Linked DNA regions of Homo sapiens: regions 1, 2, 3, 5, 6 and 7 are each linked to region 4. Evidence: promoter capture Hi-C in human tissues and cell types (Jung and others, 2019). All regions are on one chromosome and are shown on one strand. Each heading gives the region's core, a stretch centred on a gene start or on the middle of the fragment in contact. The rest is flanking DNA. Distances are from core to core; before and after follow the strand shown.

Region 1 (2,700 bases), core at 70-2,569, 1.2 Mb after region 4:
TGGAGAGGGAGAAGGGGGACGGGAGGCATTCGGCTTCCTGTCTTAGGGCCTTGACTGCCTGCTGCTACCTGATGGAGCAGCAGTCCCCCACCTGCCCCTTATCGGAAAAAGCAGCGTTAGCCCGGACACAGGCACACGGAGGATCCCCACCACCACCACGACGCATCGCTGGCTGGGCATTAAGAAGAAACATCAGCAACAGCATACCATTATTCGTGGCTTAGACACTGGGAGGTAGGGGTGGATAACCGAGACCCGGGGCTCCGCGAGACAAAAAGATGCAGGATCACTGCATCTTCAGAGGAAGCCGCGCTGGGGCAGTCAGATTTTGCCGGCGAAAATCCCGTTCTTGATCTGCTCGTTCCAGCTCTCCACCTGGGAAGCAGAAAGGCAGGGAGCGGGACGCCGGCTCAGCCTCGGCCGAGCCCTGCACACGCCTGGCCCGGCGCCCCCTCTGCCGACTCACCCAGCTGATGGGGCACAGCGAGTGGTACACGCGGAAATAGTACTCGCAGGGCTGCGTGCTCTTCCCGCGGCGGGTCCTGGTCTTGAGGCAGCGGTGGTAGTCTGTGGCGGGCGGGGGTCACGCGGCAAGCCACGCCCATTCCAGGACAGGACCCGCCCCTCCACTGCTCGGGCCCTCCCAGTTCTTCGCTGCTTCGTCCCGCCTCCCTCTCCCCTGGAGGCCTCCGTCCCGCCCCTCCCAGCCAGGCCCCGACCCCTACCTCCCTCACACTGCTCCTCCTACCCAGACCCTGCCCCTACCTACCTCGCCCCGCACCTTCACGACTCGGCCCCGCACCTTCCAGATCAGGCCTCGCCCCTACCAACCTCGCCCCGCCCCTCCAGGCTCAGCCCCGCCTTTTCTCGACCAGGCCCCGCCCCCACCAACCCGGCCCCGCCCGGCCTCCCACCCTAACGGTCTCCGCGGGACTTAGGGTGGGAGTGCCCCTCCCTGCCGTCCCTTGTCACACCCTGCTCCTCCCATAACCTGGCTGAGCAGGTCTCACCCAGGAAGTTCTGGTAGCAGTTACGGATCTGGTTCTGGCTGGGGAAGCGCGGGTCGAAGGGCGGCGTCGACCATTTCCCCTTGGGGGGCTCCTGGGCTTCCACATCCAACATCCACGAAGGAGGCAACTCCTGCGAGACGGGACGGGACGGGGACTCCGTGGGGCCGAGGGGGCGCCCTCGCTCCGACCCGTCTCCCCATCCTGACCCCCGCCCCTGAACCCCACCCGTCGTGCCCTCACCAGCCTGACGTTGGCGGCCACTGGATCTGCTGTGGGATGGTCCCGGGGTGCCGCTCGCTTCTGAGTCCGCGGGGTGCGGTCCCACCCGGGTCAGGAGAAACGCACCCCGCGGCCGGATTGGCTAGGACGCCCGAGCCCCAGCCAATGGGAGCCGTCGTGCACCGCGGGGCTGGTAGGGGCGCCCCCACCCCACCCCTTGCTCCCCCGACGCCCCCTCGGGGGCCTGCGCGTGCACACAGGCACCGAGGTGCGACTCGCTGAGTCTCAGGCTCAAGCTTTAATCTCTGCGAAGTTGGGCGGCTCCACGGGCTCGCCCCCGCCCCCCCCCGCCCCCCAATATATAAAGGCATATCCATAGTTCTGGTATCTACCAGAGGGGGCAAATCCCCCCAAGCGGCTTTCAACATTCCGCTTCCTACAGTCGGTGCGCACAGAACCCTCGGGGCCTGTGGGGTTAAGAGGAAAGAGCAGCGGTGGGGTCCGGGCTCCTGGGAACCCCCCCGCCCCCCTCGTCCTCCCCCCTCCGTTACCCGCCCCCCCCACCCTCCTCCCTCGCCCCCCTCCCCCCGCCCCCAGGTCTAAGGCAGATCTCCAGGGTCTTAAAGGGTACCTGGCAGCGCTGGGCTCCTCTGGACAGTTTCCAACTGAGGTTAAGCCCCCGCATCCGGCCACTCGGAGTGCTGGGAGTGCTGCAGGCTGCAGGGAGAAAGCAAGCCAGAGAGAGCTTTGGGGGACAGGGTAGGGAGAGAGGGGTACCCAGGGCTTTAAGAGCTGCAGATGCCTGGCTTAGGAGAGCGTCCCCCAGGGCGGGTCTTGCTGTGTGTTTGGCTCACTGTTGTATCTGCCTGGGGCAGAGTCTGGCAGTAGTAAATGCACAATAAATCCGAGGCGGAATCAATGAGTCTTGGCTCTAGGGGCAGACAAGTAACTGGAATCTGGGCAGGTGGTTTCACCTCTAGATCCCTGCTAAGCTTCTCTCCCTCCTGCCTGGTTAATATCAGGCCTGACTCAGGATTGTTTACACTGACAGCCAAATGTACGAATTAAGAATCCCGGCCAGGTGCGGTGGCTCATGCCTGTAATCCTAGCATTTTGTGGGGCAGAGGCGGGAGGATTGCTTGAGTCCAGGAGTCTGAGACTAGCCTGGACAACATGGTGAAACCCCATCTCTACAAAAAATACCAAAATTAGCCAGGCGTGTTGGTGCGTGCCTGTGGTTCCAGCTACTGAGGAGGCTGAGGCAGGAGAATCACCTGAGCCTGGGTAGCTTGAGGCTGCAGTGAGCTGTGATGGCATCACTGCACTTCAGTCTGGGCAACATGTGAGACCTCTTTTCTACAAAAAAATCAAAAACTTGGCTGGGCTTTTGGAGGCTGAGGCAGGAGGATCACTTGAGCCCAGGAAGATAAAGGCTGCCATGAGCCACGATCACACCGCTGCACTCTAGCCT
Region 2 (2,700 bases), core at 168-2,667, 1.4 Mb after region 4:
AATACACACACACACAAATGTAGCTGGGTGTGGTAGTGCATGCCTATAGTCCTAGCTACATGGGAGGCTGAGGCAGGAGGAACACTTGAACCTGGGAGGTGGAAGTTGCAGTGAGATTGTGCCACTGCACTCCAGCCTGGGCGGCAGAGCCAGACTGTCTCAAAAACAACCAACCAACCAAAAGAACAAAAAACAAAAAACACACAGCTTTGGAGGGCAGAGGTAAGACTTGATTCAGGCCTGCCAGCCTCCCCAGCCTGGGCTACCCCAGGCCCGTGCCCCGCCCCCAGCTGAACCCTGCCACCTCTGGCCCCACAGCCTCGTACCTTTCTGACGATGGGTGACCAGAAGGACGCGGCCATAGCAACCCTGGCCCAGGGGACGCACTTCCTCGTAGAGCTCGTCCACCTCGGCTCGGACCAGGGTCTGAGCACTCAGCGTCATCATGTCCTCCAGCGCGCGGGCAGCCTCCTGGCCCTGCTGGAGCTCCTCTAATGTCAGGCCGCCCAGACCCTCCTCCTCGCTGTCCTCCGAAGCCCCTGCCTCCGCCGGCCCTTCCTCAGACTGTTTGCCGGGCATCTCTGCGAGAACAGAGAGGGGTGCCCAGGCTCAGGTCCCAGGCCCAAGGGAGGAGGGGACTGGGGGTCTGGACTCCTGGGTCTGAGGGAGGAGGGGCTGGGGGCTCATCGCGCTTCTCATTGTGACTCAGTCTCCCTCTTGGTGAGAGGTGGGGAGACAAGTCTGGTGTGAGTTCAAGCCCCAGGTCACAGATGTCCCTGCCCGCGTGCCGCCGCCGCCACCCGCCCACCCTGAGGTTGAAAGATGAACCAGATAACTGAGACTCCCCCATCTTGTTTCCAAAGCAAACAGACTTGGGCCCTGGGGGTGGATGAGTAGACTCTGTCTCCTGAGAACAAACAGGTGCTCTTGGGCTCAGGGCTGGGAGGGCGGGCTGTGCAGAGGGCCTGGGACGCCTGGGTCCTGCATGGGACCGAGCACTTGGGATCAGTCCCCAAGCTCCTGACAGGCCTGGGGTCCCACTTTCACAGCCCACCCACCTCCCTCCGACCCAGCCCCCCAGCCCCTCCTCCGCCAGGCCCAGGGGTCCAGGCCCCCAGCCCACCTCTCTCCCGGAACCTCATACAATTCACACAACTGGGGACCCCCTGATTCTGTTTCCCTCACCCTCCACCGCTCTACAGCCTCCAGGTGCAGCCCAGGCTCCCCTGAGGGACCGAGGACTCGGGCCACCTGGTACAGTCACCCTCAGGTGCTGCCCACCTCAGGCCAGGGCACCTTGCCCACCTCCCAACCTGGGCTCAGACCTCCAGACCTCACCTCCTCCAAGGCCCTCCTGACCCTCCGGCCGCCGGCTGTGGTCAGTGCCCGGCACTTAGGGCTCATGCCAGCAGAGGCCTGCCTAGGAGCAAGACCCCGCCCCGACTTTGGGGGTCGTAAGGCCCCGCCCCTGGGCCCGCCCCTTCTGCCCCCACTGGGAGCAGAGCGACATCGTGTGATGACTCCTGGAACTGGCTGTGGTCAGGTGAATACCCTGACCCAAGAGTTGAGCCCTCCTCCTTCAGACCCAGGAGTCCAGGCCCCAGCCCCTCCTCCTCCCTCAGACTCAGGAGTCCAGGCCCCCAGCGCCTCCTCCCTCAGACCCAGGAATCCAGTCTCCCAGTGCCTCCTCCCTCAGACCCAGGAGTCCAGGCCCCAGCCCCTCCTCCCTCAGACCCAGGAGTCCAGGCCCCCAGCTCTTCTTCCCTCAGACCCAGGAATCCAGGCCCCCAGCTTTCCCTCCCTCAGACCCAGGAATCCAGTCCCCCAGTGCCTCCTCCCTCAGACCCAGGAGTCTAGACCCCAGCCCCTCCTCCCTCAGACCCAGGAGTCTAGGTCTCCAGCCCCTCCTCCCTCAGACCCAGGAATTCAGGTCTCCAGCCCCTCCTCCCTCAGACCTAGGAGTCCAGACCCCCAGCCCCTCCTCCCTCAGACCCAGGAGTCCAGGCCCCAGCCCCTCCTCCCTCAGACCCAGGAGTCCAGGCCCCAGTCCCTCCTCCCTCAGACCCAGGAGTCCAGGCCTCAGCCTCCCCCACCCATCTGAAGTTTTCCGGCAGAACTGAGGCCTCCCCACCCCCTCAAGGCCTCTCTTCCCAGTTGCTCCAGCACCTGCTTCCCGCCCCTCTGAGTCTGAGGTCATCCCACACTGCATCGTTCTGGAATCTCATTGTCTCATTCTTTCCCCAAACTAGACCCCAGCATCTGATCCCCTGGACACCCCTCTCCAAGCACTTGTGTCTGACCTGTCAATGGGGCATTGATGGGGCAGCTGGGTGGGGTCAAGGCAGGGGTGGGTTCCAGAAATGATTTCATTTTCTACACGGGACCCGGACTCCTGGGCCTGATGGAGGAGGGGGTTGAGGACCTGGACTCCTAGGTCTGAGGGAGGAGGGGGTTGAGGACCCGGACTCCTGGGCCTGAGGGTGGAGGGGGTTGAGGACCTGGACTCCTGGGCCTGAGGGAGGAGGGGGTTGAGGACCTGGACTCCTGGGTCTGAGGGAGGAGGGCCTGAGGGCTCCTGATTCCAAAGAGAGGAATAACAATAAAAATAGTTTGAAAGCGCATAACAGGAATACAGGCCAGTGAGTGCCTCCCTGCTGTAAGCACAGGGAGATTAAGCCCCACTAGGAAGTCCCCAAGCCT
Region 3 (2,700 bases), core at 201-2,700, 1.1 Mb before region 4:
GACCAACATCTCCCTATTCCCTCCAGTCCCCAACCTGTGGTAACCCACATTCTACTCTTTGCTGCTATTAGTTTTATTGGTTTAGATTCCAAATGTAAGTGACAACATGCAGTACTTGTATTTCTGTGCTGAAGCCTGGAAAAACAGAATACGCACCCCATGTAAGACTGAGGATCAATGACAGAAGGATTTTGTTAGGTGTCTTTACGGTTATGCTGAGAACAATCTTAGAAGATAGAACCCACTCGCTTATCACACACCCCCATGAAAGTGGCAAAAGCAGAATGGAAGAAATGGCCGAGGGACCTCGACAGGCGGAGACGGCTGGAGACTCTTCCATGAGGTTTGGGGCAGCAGATGCCAAGGAGCAGCAGCCAATGTTTCCATCTCCTGAGCAGGTCTTCCACGCACAGGAAATGGGGTGGAACATAAACAGGTCTAGACGTCAGGACTAAGGACTATGGAGGCTTCCCCTCTGACCCATATGGACTAAGAACTGAGCACCATATGGAATTAAATACAGAGGGAGAGACCAAGAAAGAAAGCAGTTTCTTCAGAAGGAACCATAGAGTTCAAATGACAGGGTGTTGTCCATCATGATAAAGACTTTGCCTCTATCTCTAAGGCAACTTATTTTCCCAAAGAACTCTCTCATCTGCAGAGAGTTTCCCACTTTATTTATTTATTTATTTTGAGACGGAGTTTTGTTCTGTCCACCCAGGCTGGAGTGCAGTGGCATGATCTTGGCTCACTGCAACCTCCACCTCCCGGGTTCAAGCAATTCTCTTGCCTCAGCCTCCTGAGTAGCTGGGACTACAGGCACACGCCACCATGCCCGGCTAATTTTTTTTTGTATTTTTAGTAGAGATAGGGTTTCACAATGTTGGTCAGGCTGGTCTCGAACTCCTGACCTCAAGTGATCTGCCCACCTTGGCCTCCCTAAGTGTTGAGATTACAGGCGTGAGCTACTGTGCCCCCTCCCACACTCTAGTTAATGAGTGGCCTTCTCTCTGCCCATCTGAGCTCTTACCTGTGACCACGCCTTTGACACATTCCGGCGTTCTTGGTTTTCTTGCTATTTTCACACAGCTCTTCACAGTCCAGGGCTCTTTCCCTTCCTCCAACATGGAGATAATATTCATATCAAAATGACACAGTCCTGTTTATAAAAAGAAAGGATCACAATGTGCCGGGGCTTTTCCAGAATCCCAGCCCTATGTTTACATGAGAGGACATTATATGTGGATCTAAGAAAACTTCAAAAATTCATCCACTGGGCCAGGCGCGGTGGCTCATGCCTGTAATCCCAGCATTTTGGGAAGCTGAGGTGGGTGGATCACAAGGTCAGGAGATGGAGATCATGATGGCTAACATGGTGAAACCCTGTCTCTACTAAAAACATAAAAAAAAATTATCCAGGTGTGGTGGCGGGCGCCTGTGGTCCCAGCTACTCGGGAGGCTAAGGCAGGAGAATGGCATGAACCTGGGAGGCAGAGCTTGCAGGGAGCCTAGATCACGCCACTGCACTCCAGCCCGGGCGACAGAGCGAGACTCCGCCTCAAAAAAAAAAAAAAAAAATCATCCACTGAATGCCTCCTTCTGAATACCCAGGAAACATGGTACATGCTGATAGAAGGCTCTATTCCACCAACAACTTAATCCAAAGCAGAGAGGTAGAAAACAGGAAATCTGACATTTCAAAAGTCTAACACAATGTATTATGCATACAAAAGCTCTGAAACCTCAAATGATGAAGTACAAAGGAGGCAGAACATCTGAGAAAGGGGAAGATTAAAGTCCAGGTTTCCCATGATTAAGCTTTCCATTTCAGAGTCAACAGGACTTCAATCTCAGTCAAGCAATGCAGGGGCTCTCCAGGGACTCGTAAGGGAAAATGCAACAATAGACAAGAACAGATCTTGACTTCTGGAAGAAAGTCATCCTCACCCAGAGAAACAAGGTTCCAGTAGTTCTCCAACATCACGTCCCTGTATAAGATCCTCTGAGCAGGGTCCAGGCATTTCCACTCCTCCTGAGAGAATTCTATGGCCACATCCCTAAATGTCAACCGTACCTAAAATGAAAAACACATTTCACCAAGTGGCTAAGGGGAGAGTTCAAAATTTCACATAAAAGGAGAAGAGGAGAAAAATGTGAGAATAGGTTAAATTGAAGTGGGTGAGCTGACAGATCCAGATTGTGACAATGTGACATACAGATTTGGTCTTCATCCCCCTCTCCTGACATAAGAGCTCACTTGAAATCAGTGGAGTGATAAGTATCTTTTTGTACATTAATGGGATAATTGGTGTCTGGAGCACCTAGGTAGCTTCAGGATGGAGGGCGGTCACCGGAACTAAGGCTCGGTGGGTGGTCACTGGAAAGGCTGAGGCTCGGTTAGACTAAGCCTCTGTCCTCTCGGGAGGACAGAGGGAATGAAAGTTCAGTTGATCACCAATGCCAATAATGGAAGCAAGGCCTCCATAATGGGGCCTCCATGAAAACTCAAAAAAGACAGAATACATGAGAGAATACATCCCAGCTCCTCACTCCTTTCCCATATCTCAACTAATAGATCACTTCCATCTAGATGTTCATCTGTGTGCTTTGTAGCATCTTCTATAATAAATGGGTAAATATAAGTGTTTCCCTGTGTTATGTGAGCCACTCAAGCAAACTAATCAATTTCAAGGAGGGGGT
Region 4 (2,700 bases), core at 148-2,647:
TCGGTTGTGTGACCCTGGGCAAATGCCTCCCAGTTCGTGGAAGTCTCAGTGTCTAGTTAAGTTTTCAATCACAAGTCATTCCTCACATTCATTCATCTATTCCTTTGACAAATGGTTACTGACTACTTCCTGCGTGCTAAGTGCTGGAGATGCAAAATCCAGACAGGGAAACCGAATAATTACGAAAATGACGGTAGACGTACAAAAATAAATCCTAACGAACAAGGCGCGCAGGAGCGCTCCGCCCGGGAGGGAGGTCAGGGAAGTTTTCTCTCCAAGAAGACAACAGAGCTGAGACCTGAAACGAGCAGGCATTAGGGAGCCACCCGTCTCCTCTGTACCTTCTGCAGCGTCCTCAACACACTAAGGAAGCGGAGACGCAGAGGAGAATGACTGTCCCACCATCTGGTCGCCTAACCAGGCAGGGGCAGGACAAAAACTCCATGCCTCACGCTTCCCAACCAATTCTGCTATGCACGGTGCCAGAGACTTAAAGCAGTGTCTCTGGTCCCTTTCTTCTTTCACTCAGCAAATAATGAATTTCAGAGATGTGCCAACATAGAGGCACTTGGAGAAAGACGAGGCAGCTGAGAGGGAAGCTGCTTACCTGGCCGGGACGCAACGGTTGCGACCAAGTCCCACTTCTGCCAGCTACATACACCCTCTTTCACACGCTCTACGAGCAGCTACCGCCCACTCGCCACGCTATTGGTCCAACTAGCATGAATGATAACTTTTAGGGCCAACGAAGAAAAAGGGGTGGACTTTCTTGCCCAGCTCCTCCCACTTGGCCCTGTGGCTGTTTTGATTGGCAGATGACTTCGGCTCGGCCCCCGCTTTAAAGGCACCTGTCTGTCTCCCATTAGGTACGCGGCCCCTAACGCCCACACTCCATGCCTTCCTCCGCTTTCCCCACCCACTTCCAGGACCAACCAATGACTTCAAGGCAGAATATGCCCCCGCAACCAATTAAAAAGAGCTCTAAACTTGACGGACGACTTCCCGCCCCTGGACTGTCGTAGCTCCTCCCCCAGACCAATTGTTTTAAGAGAGGGGGGCGGATACATCCAATCAGCACGACACAGGTCTCTTGATTGACGTTCGGGTCCTCGCGCTGGCGTGTTGTGCCCTGAGGCGGGAGGAGGAGGAGGAGCGGGGAGGAAAACCTGAGCCAATCCTAGCAGCCTGCGCGGGAGGCCAATCGAACGCCGCGCCTTGGAGCGATCACCCAATCCGCGAAAGGGGGCAGGGCGCATCCCTGCCAGGAACCAATAGAAAGCCTCCAAGGGTCAGGAGCGACGTTCAGCGGGAGCAATGACTGGCCTATATTCGGGACTCGGGGGCGGGTCGGCGCCAGAGACGAGAAGAGAGGAGGGGAGGCCTCCTCCGCCGCCGCCATCTTGGACCGGGCCCGGTCAGCTTCCGCGGAGCCATCGGCAGACGCCGCGGCCTCCCTTGAGCCCCGACCCCCGTCGTCAGAACAACCCCGGGCCCACTCCCCCAACCCCACTTCCGCTTCGCGCCGCTATCGCGATAGCGCCCGGGCCCGGGGCGCGAGAAAAAGGCGGCGGGCGCTCGCCTCCCCCGCCTGTCGCGATACGCTCCTCAGCGGCGGCGCCAGCTCCTGTGGTGAGAGCGTCAGGCTCGACTGGGCCGGACCCCTTCCCTTCCTCCCCCCGGCGCCATCGGCCGCCCTCCCCGCCGCCTCCCGCCCTGGCGACACCGCCGTCTGTCGCGACATGGCCTCCCCTCGCCTGCCCCCTGCCGCCGCCTCTGCAGCGCGGGGCTCCCGGCGGGGGGCGGCTCCCTCCCTCTCGCCCTCCCGTTCCTGCGCCTCTTTCACGTTCCTCAGCGCCTCCCGGGGGTCCTTCCGCGACCCGGACCCCGGGCCCCGCCCGCCGCCGCCTCCCCGCGTGGCATCGCGTCGGGCCCCCCGGTAGGGGTGTGAGGGTGCGAAGCCTCCCGGGCGCGAGGTGCCCGCCCCTCTCCGCGTCGGTATTGGCTCCTGGCTGGAAGGATGGAGGCGCCCCTGGTCCCAGGTGCCCGCCCTCTCGGGGCTCAGGTGCCTGCCCCCCTCGGCCTCGGTCCTTCGCGTTGTGGGGCAGCCTCCGCGCCGGGGCTTCTCCCTCGACGGTGGCGGGGAGGGGGGGTGGTGGTCGGGACGAGGACCCCAGCTGGGTGGGGGAGTCACCCTTCCCAGGACCGAGGCCGCCCTCCGCATCCCTCCTCACTGCTCCCGGGAGCGCAGCCTCCCCTGGATCTCAGGTTCCAGCTGCCCGTCTGTATCGGATGGGAGCCTCTTGGGAGAGGAGTGGAGGAGAAACTCCCCGTTAGTTGGAGCCTTTGCCGAAGTTTCCACCTCTGTAGTCTGCAGCTCTTCCCTCTCATAGCGAGTAGCGCCCTGGGTGGCTCCAGCCTCGCCATCCCGCTGCACTGGGCGCCTGCCTTTTTGGGGGAGTTTGGCTTTCCCCCACCTGGGGTACAGGACCGTCCTCAGTGTGGCCCACGTCTGGTCTCAGCTCTCACACTTCTTTGATCCTGGCGTCTGCCCCTGGCTTTGCAGCCTTGAACTCCCCTGCATCGTGACTCTCCGACCTTCTGGGTGTGGGCGTCTCCCAGTGATATCAGGACCACTGTGGTCTTGTTGCTGGGGGCTGCTGGGATCCCCTGGCGCTCAGGTGCCTGGTGAAAGACACTAAG
Region 5 (2,700 bases), core at 102-2,601, 1.0 Mb before region 4:
TAAAATCCCCAGGTGCGCTCATGGGATTGGTAGCGAGTCCCAGCGTTTCCGCGGGAAACTCTGAGACCCGGTGGCTCTGCAGCTTGTCTATGATTTGAACCCTCCCCTTGATTTGGAGACTGGATTGCTCTTTTTAATACTCCCAGTTGGTGGCTGGTGTGCTTCCCAGCTGTCCGCAGGTTTGTTCTCATGAGAGATGACTCCAGAGTGTCTAGTCTTTGCTTTGCATAACGGATGAGGAATACAAAATGTCTTAATCTTATGAATATATAAATTGTCTGTTTATGCACAATGTTCAGTCGTTTATTCACTCATCTCCCGTGGAATCCTAAGCACAATTATAAAAGAGTCACGTTACATGAGATCAGCGTCTAACACAAAGCTTCTGTCTCAATAACAGTAAATAATAATAGCAACATTAAATGAAATATTAGTATTGCTAAAATGGGAGTGTAGTAAAAATTAAATAAGTAAATAATTAAAAGGAAATGATATATGGTCAGGTGCGGTGACTTATGCTTGTAATCCCAGCACTTTGGGAGGCCGAGGTGGGCAGATCATATGAAGTCAGGAGTTCAAGACCAGCTGACCAACATGGTAAAACCCTGTCTCTACTAAAAATACAAAAAAATGACCCAGGAGTGGTGGCACATGCCTGTAGTCCCAGCTACTCCAGAGGGTGAGGCAGGAGAATTGCTTGAACTCAGGAGACAGAGGTTGCAGTGAGCTGAGATCGCACCACTGCACTCCAGCCTGGGAGACAGAACGAGACTCCGTCTCAAAATAAATAAATAACTGAATGAATGAATGAAATATTAGGCCATTTTTATGGTCTTCACTTTGGGAGACTGATGTATGCAGGGGTGGACTGCATGTTTGTCCTTGGGGTGGTCTTTTTCGTGAGAAGGGAGCTGAGCAGGACTAACTGAGGGGCAGAGCCAAGGGCCCTTCATGGAGACCACTCTGCTTACCAACCTGTGGAAGGGCAAGCGCAAGTCCACCCAGAAACACATCTGGCTGACTATGGGATCCCTGTCTGAGGCTCAGCAGACCCACGTGGCCAATAAAAGACCCTAAATTCTGCAAAAAGAAGAGTTTGTCTCTGTGCCCAGGCCCCTCCATGGAAAAAAGGTCCTGGGGTCTAAGATTTCTCACTTGGCAATGATGTTGGCTTGAATATTATTCACAGACCCAGATCCTTGGGTCTTGCGTGGGGCAAACTGACTGCAGAACTGCAGGAAGTGAGAGTCTGAACAGAGCAGCAGAAAGGCAGGCAGGAGACCTGAGGGAGGGGAGAAAGGAGAGAGACAAACAGACCAACCCGTCCTCTCCCTCAATCACCCGCCTGGGGAAGCATTAGTTTCCCATCATAGAGAGGACAACGGGGAAAGGGAGAAGCGTGTGCATAGGATGAGATGTGTGTTGGGTGGACAGAAAGACTCCTTTCCCTAAATGTGACCCCATTAGCTCACCCCATTCTATTGCACAAATTCCTGAGCGGAGGGGCACCCTGTGGGGATGAACACAGCTCTTCCTGCCTCCAGTTCCTGCGTCTCCCTGCCATGACCAGGGCTGTAACCCTCCAACTCCCTTCCCAGGGCCCCGTGGCCCCTCTGCACTGGAGAAAGGTCCATGTTCCACAGCGGGTTTCAAGGACCTTGCCCCTCAGCTCCCCAGCTGCCTTGTGACTCTGTGACTCTGTTATCTTGGAATAAACAGGGAGAGGCCACCGGCCTGGCTGCAAGAATGTGGCAGCTTTATCTTCCCAAGGACAGTCCCAGTGGAAGCCTTTGGGCCGCAGGTCAGTGTGCTGTGTTTCACTCTGATTCTTGGAGAAATCTTTCCCTTACTCTGGGACCCTGATAATCACTCCCTCTTGAGTTGCACCCACAGACGCCCCCACAACAAACCCTCCCTAATGAAAGCCATCTGCGCCTGATTCTTAGGATCCCCGTTGCCCTCTGGACTCAGACACGCTTACAAACTCCCACACTCCCCATATACTTCATAAAGATCCCACAATCCCCAGATACTTCATAAAGATCCAGAAGCCCTGTTATGAAATCTCACAAGCCCCAGTAACTCATGGAATAATATACACAAACACCCCAGGAACTCACTGACCCAGGGCAACGTATTTCCACTCATAGTGACTCCACCCCACAGGGGAATACCACTGAAACCTACCAATAAAACAGAGATGTCTCTAATGATGCAATTAGACCCCAACATCAGGAAAGGAAACACTCCAAATGATCATTTCATCTTCCAAAACACAACTGAAAGCTTATTGATCTGCAACTGAAAATACCCCGAATGCCAAAGGCAACCCAGAAAATAATCTCTGAGATTCTTCCTATCTTTCCTCTATGGGTTTCAGGATGGTTTTTGCACTTCCCAAAGCCTCCACAGAAATCACCCCGTGGAGCGGATGCTGTGGAGCAGCTCTGGGATCCACACCCTCAGGCCAAGGCGCCCATCCTCCTGCTGCTGAAGCTCCCTCTGGGCTCAGCTTAGGTCTTGGTTCTAAGTACACTTCGGGATGTTTTTCTCTGCCTGATTCCACTGCCTTCAGTCCTCTTCACTGTGATGATGAGTTTCCGAATTAAATTCCTGCATGCAAATCTCTGTGTCAGCATCTGTTTCCCAGGTAACCTGAGCTGAGACATCAGGGCATTACAAAATGATCCTGCAGCCCCA
Region 6 (2,700 bases), core at 19-2,518, 1.5 Mb after region 4:
TAGTCAGTGGCGCACAAAGGGTAACAAGCAGTGATAGTGGGGATGCTTTCCATTTTAGGAAACTTTTCCTAAAAGGAAGTGGCAATTTTAACTAATCTCCCCTCCGCCGCTCCCAGCTGCCGCTCCAGATGCTGCTGCTGCCGCCGCGGCCACCCCACCCTCGGTCCTCCTCTCCGGAGGCCATGGACCCACCGCCCCCCAAGGCTCCCCCTTTCCCCAAGGCGGAAGGCCCCTCCTCCACTCCTTCCTCGGCGGCGGGGCCCCGACCCCCGCGGCTGGGCCGCCACCTCCTCATCGACGCCAATGGGGTCCCCTACACATACACGGTGCAGCTGGAGGAGGAGCCCCGGGGCCCGCCCCAGCGCGAGGCGCCCCCAGGAGAGCCCGGCCCTCGCAAGGGCTACAGCTGCCCGGAGTGCGCCCGTGTCTTTGCCAGCCCTCTGCGGCTGCAGAGCCACCGCGTGTCGCACTCGGACCTCAAGCCCTTCACGTGCGGCGCCTGCGGCAAGGCCTTCAAGCGCTCCAGCCACCTGTCGCGGCATCGCGCCACGCACCGCGCCCGCGCCGGGCCGCCGCACACCTGCCCGCTCTGCCCACGCCGCTTCCAGGACGCCGCGGAGCTGGCGCAGCACGTGCGCCTCCACTAAGCTCGAGACCCGGCCTGTGCTGCCCTGCCCGTCTCAGGGCCACCAAGTCTGACCCACACAGCGTCACTCACTCCCACACACACCCCCTGGCTCTGCTGAGGTTACTGCCTTACCCTGGGCCTCAGTTTCCCCACCTTCCAAAGGGAGGAGCATCATTCCTTCCTTACCCCCTTTCTAGCTGTGTGATGTAGACCAAAGTCGTTGCCCCTCCCTGGGCCTGGGAACCAGTCGGAACTGGGTTCCAGTCCAGCTGTGCTGTGTGAGCCTGTGCAAGTGACATGACCTCTCTAAACCTTGGTTTTCTGCTCTCTGGAGCGGTGAACCGGTGGTTGTCTGCGGGGAAGAGATGATAAAGAGCACGGGCACGGTCTGGTTCATTTCTGTATCTACCCCCCTTCCGCCCACGCCCCCGACCCTTTGCTCAATAAACATTCCGCACTCCATTTTCAGGCTCTTCCTTGCGTGTGCGTGCACGTTGGGTGCTGGGGGGTGGAGACCGGATCTTCCTCGCTTGGGTACTTTCCTCTCGGTGTGTGTTTCTGGCCGGAGCCGTTTCGCGACGGCCCGGGCGCCCCGCCCCAACCTTCCTTCCCTAGACCCTCTTCTCTCCCTTCGGCTTCTCTCTTTCGGCCGGCGCCGCCAGTTCCTGGGGCACACCCAGAGGTCCCCTTCTCGCCGCCGCCTGCAACTGCGAGGGTAGCCCGGGGCCGCTTGGAGTCGCCCGGACCTGAGAGGCTGCTGCACTGGGTACGGGGGCCGGGAGGAGGAAGGGGGCTGGGGGCGGGCGGCGGGAGGGGCTGGACCGCGTGGAGGGTACCTGGGCCGGGGCGGGAGTGGGGCAGACGCCGGAGGGGGCTGTTCTGGAGCTTGGAGGGGGCGAGAACTTACACAGAAAGGCCCAGAAAGCGAGGGCTGCGGCCCCGGGGGTGGAACCCCGGAGAGCGCTGGGACCTAGAACGAGCCTGGTGGAGGCCGGGCGAGGACTAGAGAGAACCTGAGGTGGGTGGACGGGTGGGAGCACGGAGTTGTTCAGACACGTGGCTGGAGAGAGGGCCGGAACCTGGGGGTCCTAACGTCGGAGCCCCTGTGAATAGGCTTGGCTTGTATGGAGGGGGTCAGGAAAGGCTTGAGTATGTAGCATAGGCCAACACGCAGACCCTGGAAAGGGCTAGAAGGAGGGGAGGGAGAGGCCTGGAGGCCTGCGGGGTGGGGCACCCAGTGACCTGGGAGGGCACAAAGAGGAAGGTTAGAGCGAGGTCCAGGTTGTGCAGAGGAGGTCAAGAGATCCTGTGAGTACAGTGTATGGTGGAGCACCGAGGCTAGGAGAGGTTTTCCAAGGAGGAAGACCCTGGGGACCTTTTAGGGGGCCACAGACTCCAGCTGTGAGCGGGACTGGAAAAGAGGGACTGAGGGGCAGCAGGATGCAGAGGTCCTGGGCCGGGTATAGGGAGGGAAAAGGATGGAGCCTGTGGTGCTGAGCTGCCCTCTTCTATATAACCTTCTTATCCCATCTCCCATCCACCAGGCCTCAGCCAGCCCTCCGGATGCTGGTGCTGCCATCCCCCTGCCCTCAGCCTCTGGCATTTTCCTCCGTTGAGACCATGGAGGGCCCTCCCCGTCGGACTTGCCGCTCCCCAGAACCTGGACCTTCCTCCTCCATCGGATCTCCCCAGGCTTCATCTCCTCCAAGGCCCAACCACTACCTGCTTATTGACACTCAGGGTGTCCCCTACACAGTGCTGGTGGACGAGGAGTCACAGAGGGAGCCAGGGGCCAGTGGGGCTCCAGGCCAGAAAAAGTGCTACAGCTGCCCCGTGTGCTCAAGGGTCTTCGAGTACATGTCCTACCTTCAGCGACACAGCATCACCCACTCGGAGGTAAAGCCCTTCGAGTGTGACATCTGTGGGAAGGCATTCAAGCGCGCCAGCCACTTGGCACGGCACCATTCCATTCACCTGGCGGGTGGTGGGCGGCCCCACGGCTGCCCGCTCTGCCCTCGCCGCTTCCGGGATGCGGGTGAGCTGGCCCAGCACAGCCGGGTGCACTCTGGGGA
Region 7 (2,700 bases), core at 56-2,555, 1.3 Mb after region 4:
GTGTCTGTGTTGCCTATATCTATATCTGCTATCTCTGGCAAACAAGCAAGAAACGGGAGACTCAGGCGGGTGAACCAGGCACCGGGGAAGTCTGTAGGAGCCTTTTCACTGGGTCCTATTCTGTTTCTTCTGAATTCTGGACAATGTGCAACAAGTTGTCTAGTCAATACTATATACAATAAAGGGTTGGCATAAAGCCAAAACCCGGCAAAACTGATCTATGGCGTCAGAAGCCAGGACAGTGACTGCCCTTGGACCACAGTGATGGAAACGACGACGGCGGGAGATCCTGGGATGTGGCGCATGTTTGACTTTTTTCTTTGGATACTTGTTTACACCAGGGTGCTCCCTTTATAAATATTTATTTAAGCTGTGTATTTGCAAACCGTTCGATTTTCTGCGTTTGTGGTATTATTCCAGAAAAAGTGTTCAAAATGCAAAATACAAAGATGGCTTCAGGCCCCCGCCGTGCGGTTGAACTGGAGGCAAAAGGCCAGAGAGCAGGAGGTCGGCGCTGGGGCCCAGTGGGACAGGGGAGAGTCAGGAAGGGGCAGCTGGGACGGTGGGGAAAGTCGGGGAGAAAGGCCCCCAGTTTCTGGTCGAGCGAGGGGCATGATCTGAAGATTCATAGGGGATCCCGGGGAGGGGAACTGGTTTTTGGGAGATGAAAAATTGGGGTGAGGGTGGGTGTGTGAGAGAGAGAGATGTGAAGGGGAGGTCTGGGCTGGAGAGGGTTGGGCGTGTCCTGCGGAACGAGGAGAGATTCAGCCTGGGTGGAGGGTACCCAAGGCCAAAGGGGGCGTGGCTGGAGGTGGGCGGCAACAGGGGGCGGGGTAGGGCCGTTGATTTCCCCACCCGGTCTCGGAAACCCGGCCTTGGAGCCCGGACTTCCTGGCTGTGTGACCTTGGGCAAGTTTCTCTTTGTCTTAGCCTCAGTTTTCTCGTCGGAGAAATGGGGATTAAACCTGCCCACCCCCCAGCGCTGTTACAGAGGCGGCAGGCGCGACCCGGGGACGCTTCCAATCTCTGGCCAGCCAATTCTGGCGGGGCCAGGTGGAGTCCTCCTTCTGGTCCTGTGACCTTGGCCCGGGACGCCCAGGCAGAGCCTCAGTTTCCCCATCTGCTAGGCGGTAAGGTCGGTCTCCAAATAGCGCCAGCAGCGAGAGAGGACTTACCCGGAAGGTGCCGGGTTCGAGCCCGGAACGGCCCCTCTGCAGGTGAGGCGGGGGCACCCTCACCTCTCGGCTCTCGGACGGCCACCGCTGAGGCCTCTTGCGGGCTTCCCAGGGCTGGTTACCGTTTCGTTAGGGCTGGACACGTGGCCCACCCCCTGCACCGTCCGTTTTCCGCCCACTTGGGCCCAGCCGTCCAATCGACACTCATCATGCTCTGCCTCGCCGCTCTCTCCGGCCAATCCGCATGTGCCACTGCCTCTGCCCGCAATCGGCGCTCACCAACTCACCCCGCCCCCTGCCTCTCAACCAATCCGCATATGCAGCTGCTTTGCTCCCGCCCCAGGGGGGGCGGTGCCGGCAAGGCTGTCAGTCTCAAGAAAATGATTAGCTCGCAAAGGCGCCGTGGGGGCGGGGCAGCAGGTCGTTCTGCCAATGGAGAGCCGTAGAGGGCGTGAGTGGCGGCCGACGGGGCGGAGTCGCGCGGTGGTCTCCGAAGGCTCAGACTCTGGCTGGAGAGAGGGCGTCTCGGCCGGCCCCATTGCACAGAGCAGACCGCCGAGGCCGGGAGAGAGAGAGAGGGGTCTTACCTAGAGTAGAGGCATGTCTGCGGTTCGAAACCTGGCCCTCTCTCAAGAAACGGAGGCTTACAAAGATACCCAAGCACTTTCCAGGAAGGGGCTGGCTGAGGGAGCGATCAAGTGAGGAATTTGACGCCCCCCTGTCCTTTGCGCTCTGTGCTGCCTCAGTTTCCCCATCTGTACAGCACCTGCCTCCTCGGGTGGTGTTTAGAATAATTTAGACTCTGTGCTTGGAAATGGAGGTTGAGAGAAAGAGAGAATTTCCTATCTGTCTTGGAATAAATCCAAACTCCTCCCAATTCATGGTCGGCCTTCCTGGTCCGTGCAGACCTCGCCTCTCACCACTCCCCCTGCTCACTCCGCTCCAGCCACAGGGGTCTCCTCTTGCTCTTCCCTCAATGTCCCACCGCAGGGCCTTTGCACGTGTGCTGCCTCAGCCTGGAATCCTAGGACTCCCCATGGCCCAACCTTCCAGGCTTTCAAAGCCTTTCCTGACCACCTGGTGTCAGGTAGCCCTTCCATCAGGTCGCTGTTTTTAATTTTTTTGAAACATCAAAAAAAAGAAAAAAATTGCTCTATCACCCAGGCTGGAGTACCATGGTACGATCACAGCTTGCTGCAGCCTCAACCTCCCGGGCTCAAGCGATCCTCCCACCTCAGCCTCCTGAGTAGCTGGGACCACAGGTATGCGCCACCACACCTGACTAATTTTTTAATTTTTTTGTAAAGATGGAGGTCTCACTCTGTTGCCCAGGCTGGTTTTGAACTCCTGGGCTCAAGTGATCCGCCTGCCTTGGCCTCCCAGAGTGCTGCGATTACAGGTGTGAGCCGCCGCACCCGGCCTTGTGTTTTATTTTCTTTTCAGCACTAACTCCAATCTGAATTGGAAATGAATCTTGCTTTTTGAAAAATGCATGGATATACTCTTTTATTGTCTGTTCCCCGCC

The links. Contacts are between HindIII fragments. The study calls those that stand out against the background at their distance.
Region 1: a contact is called between the fragment with the promoter of COX6B2 here and the fragment with the promoter of CNOT3 in region 4, in 1 of the 25 tissues and cell types used here (spleen).
Region 2: a contact is called between the fragment with the promoter of SBK2 here and the fragment with the promoter of CNOT3 in region 4, in 1 of the 25 tissues and cell types used here (spleen).
Region 3: a fragment that was not itself captured here is called in contact with the fragment with the promoter of CNOT3 in region 4 in 1 of the 25 tissues and cell types used here (aorta).
Region 5: a contact is called between a fragment that was not itself captured here and the fragment with the promoter of CNOT3 in region 4, in 1 of the 25 tissues and cell types used here (dorsolateral prefrontal cortex).
Region 6: the fragment with the promoter of ZNF581 here is called in contact with the fragment with the promoter of CNOT3 in region 4 in 2 of the 25 tissues and cell types used here (dorsolateral prefrontal cortex and liver).
Region 7: a contact is called between the fragment with the promoter of ISOC2 here and the fragment with the promoter of CNOT3 in region 4, in 1 of the 25 tissues and cell types used here (spleen).

Annotation. Positions count from the first base shown.
Region 1 is chr19:55,353,400-55,356,099 of GRCh38, forward strand. COX6B2 (cytochrome c oxidase subunit 6B2) reads right to left here and starts at 1,320. Exons shown (of 5, transcript NM_144613.5): 1 at 1,251-1,320; 2 at 1,011-1,140; 3 at 467-567; 4 at 208-375. The coding sequence starts at 1,122. The coding sequence ends at 322. GARIN5B (golgi associated RAB2 interactor family member 5B) reads right to left here. Exons shown (of 11, transcript NM_001145402.2): 10 at 1,861-1,946; 11 at 1,509-1,696. The coding sequence ends at 1,901. RefSeq lists silencers at 635-744, 855-904. The HindIII fragment of the contact is 4,590 bases long and covers 1-1,873 here.
Region 2 is chr19:55,535,716-55,538,415 of GRCh38, forward strand. It overlaps SBK2 (SH3 domain binding kinase family member 2), which reads right to left and starts at 1,418. Exons shown (of 4, transcript NM_001370096.2): 1 at 1,339-1,418; 2 at 327-581. The coding sequence starts at 579. RefSeq lists a silencer at 2,027-2,321. The HindIII fragment of the contact is 44,152 bases long and covers 1-2,700 here.
Region 3 is chr19:53,073,110-53,075,809 of GRCh38, forward strand. It overlaps ZNF160 (zinc finger protein 160), which reads right to left. Exons shown (of 6, transcript NM_001322131.2): 4 at 1,948-2,074; 5 at 1,031-1,159. Among named protein-coding and RNA genes, the nearest start is that of ZNF160, 29 kb to the right of the region's middle. The HindIII fragment of the contact is 9,128 bases long and covers 1-2,700 here.
Region 4 is chr19:54,136,365-54,139,064 of GRCh38, forward strand. CNOT3 (CCR4-NOT transcription complex subunit 3) reads left to right here and starts at 1,398. Exons shown (of 18, transcript NM_014516.4): 1 at 1,398-1,629. The HindIII fragment of the contact is 23,783 bases long and covers 1-2,700 here.
Region 5 is chr19:53,095,439-53,098,138 of GRCh38, forward strand. All of the region lies in intron 1 of ZNF160 (zinc finger protein 160), which reads right to left. Among named protein-coding and RNA genes, the nearest start is that of ZNF160, 6.6 kb to the right of the region's middle. The HindIII fragment of the contact is 5,693 bases long and covers 1-2,700 here.
Region 6 is chr19:55,642,381-55,645,080 of GRCh38, forward strand. It overlaps ZNF581 (zinc finger protein 581), which reads left to right and starts at 1,269. Exons shown (of 2, transcript NM_016535.4): 1 at 1,269-1,394; 2 at 2,173-2,700. The coding sequence starts at 2,192. ZNF580 (zinc finger protein 580) reads left to right here. Exons shown (of 2, transcript NM_207115.2): 2 at 117-1,090. The coding sequence starts at 129. The coding sequence ends at 647. RefSeq lists silencers at 182-651, 183-477, 1,422-1,471, 2,562-2,671 and enhancers at 1,082-1,301, 2,203-2,700. The HindIII fragment of the contact is 13,132 bases long and covers 329-2,700 here.
Region 7 is chr19:55,460,337-55,463,036 of GRCh38, forward strand. It overlaps ISOC2 (isochorismatase domain containing 2), which reads right to left and starts at 1,306. Exons shown (of 6, transcript NM_001136201.2): 1 at 1,176-1,306. It overlaps C19orf85 (chromosome 19 open reading frame 85), which reads right to left. Exons shown (of 2, transcript NM_001386794.1): 2 at 2,665-2,700. RefSeq lists an enhancer at 2,691-2,700. The HindIII fragment of the contact is 25,257 bases long and covers 1-2,700 here.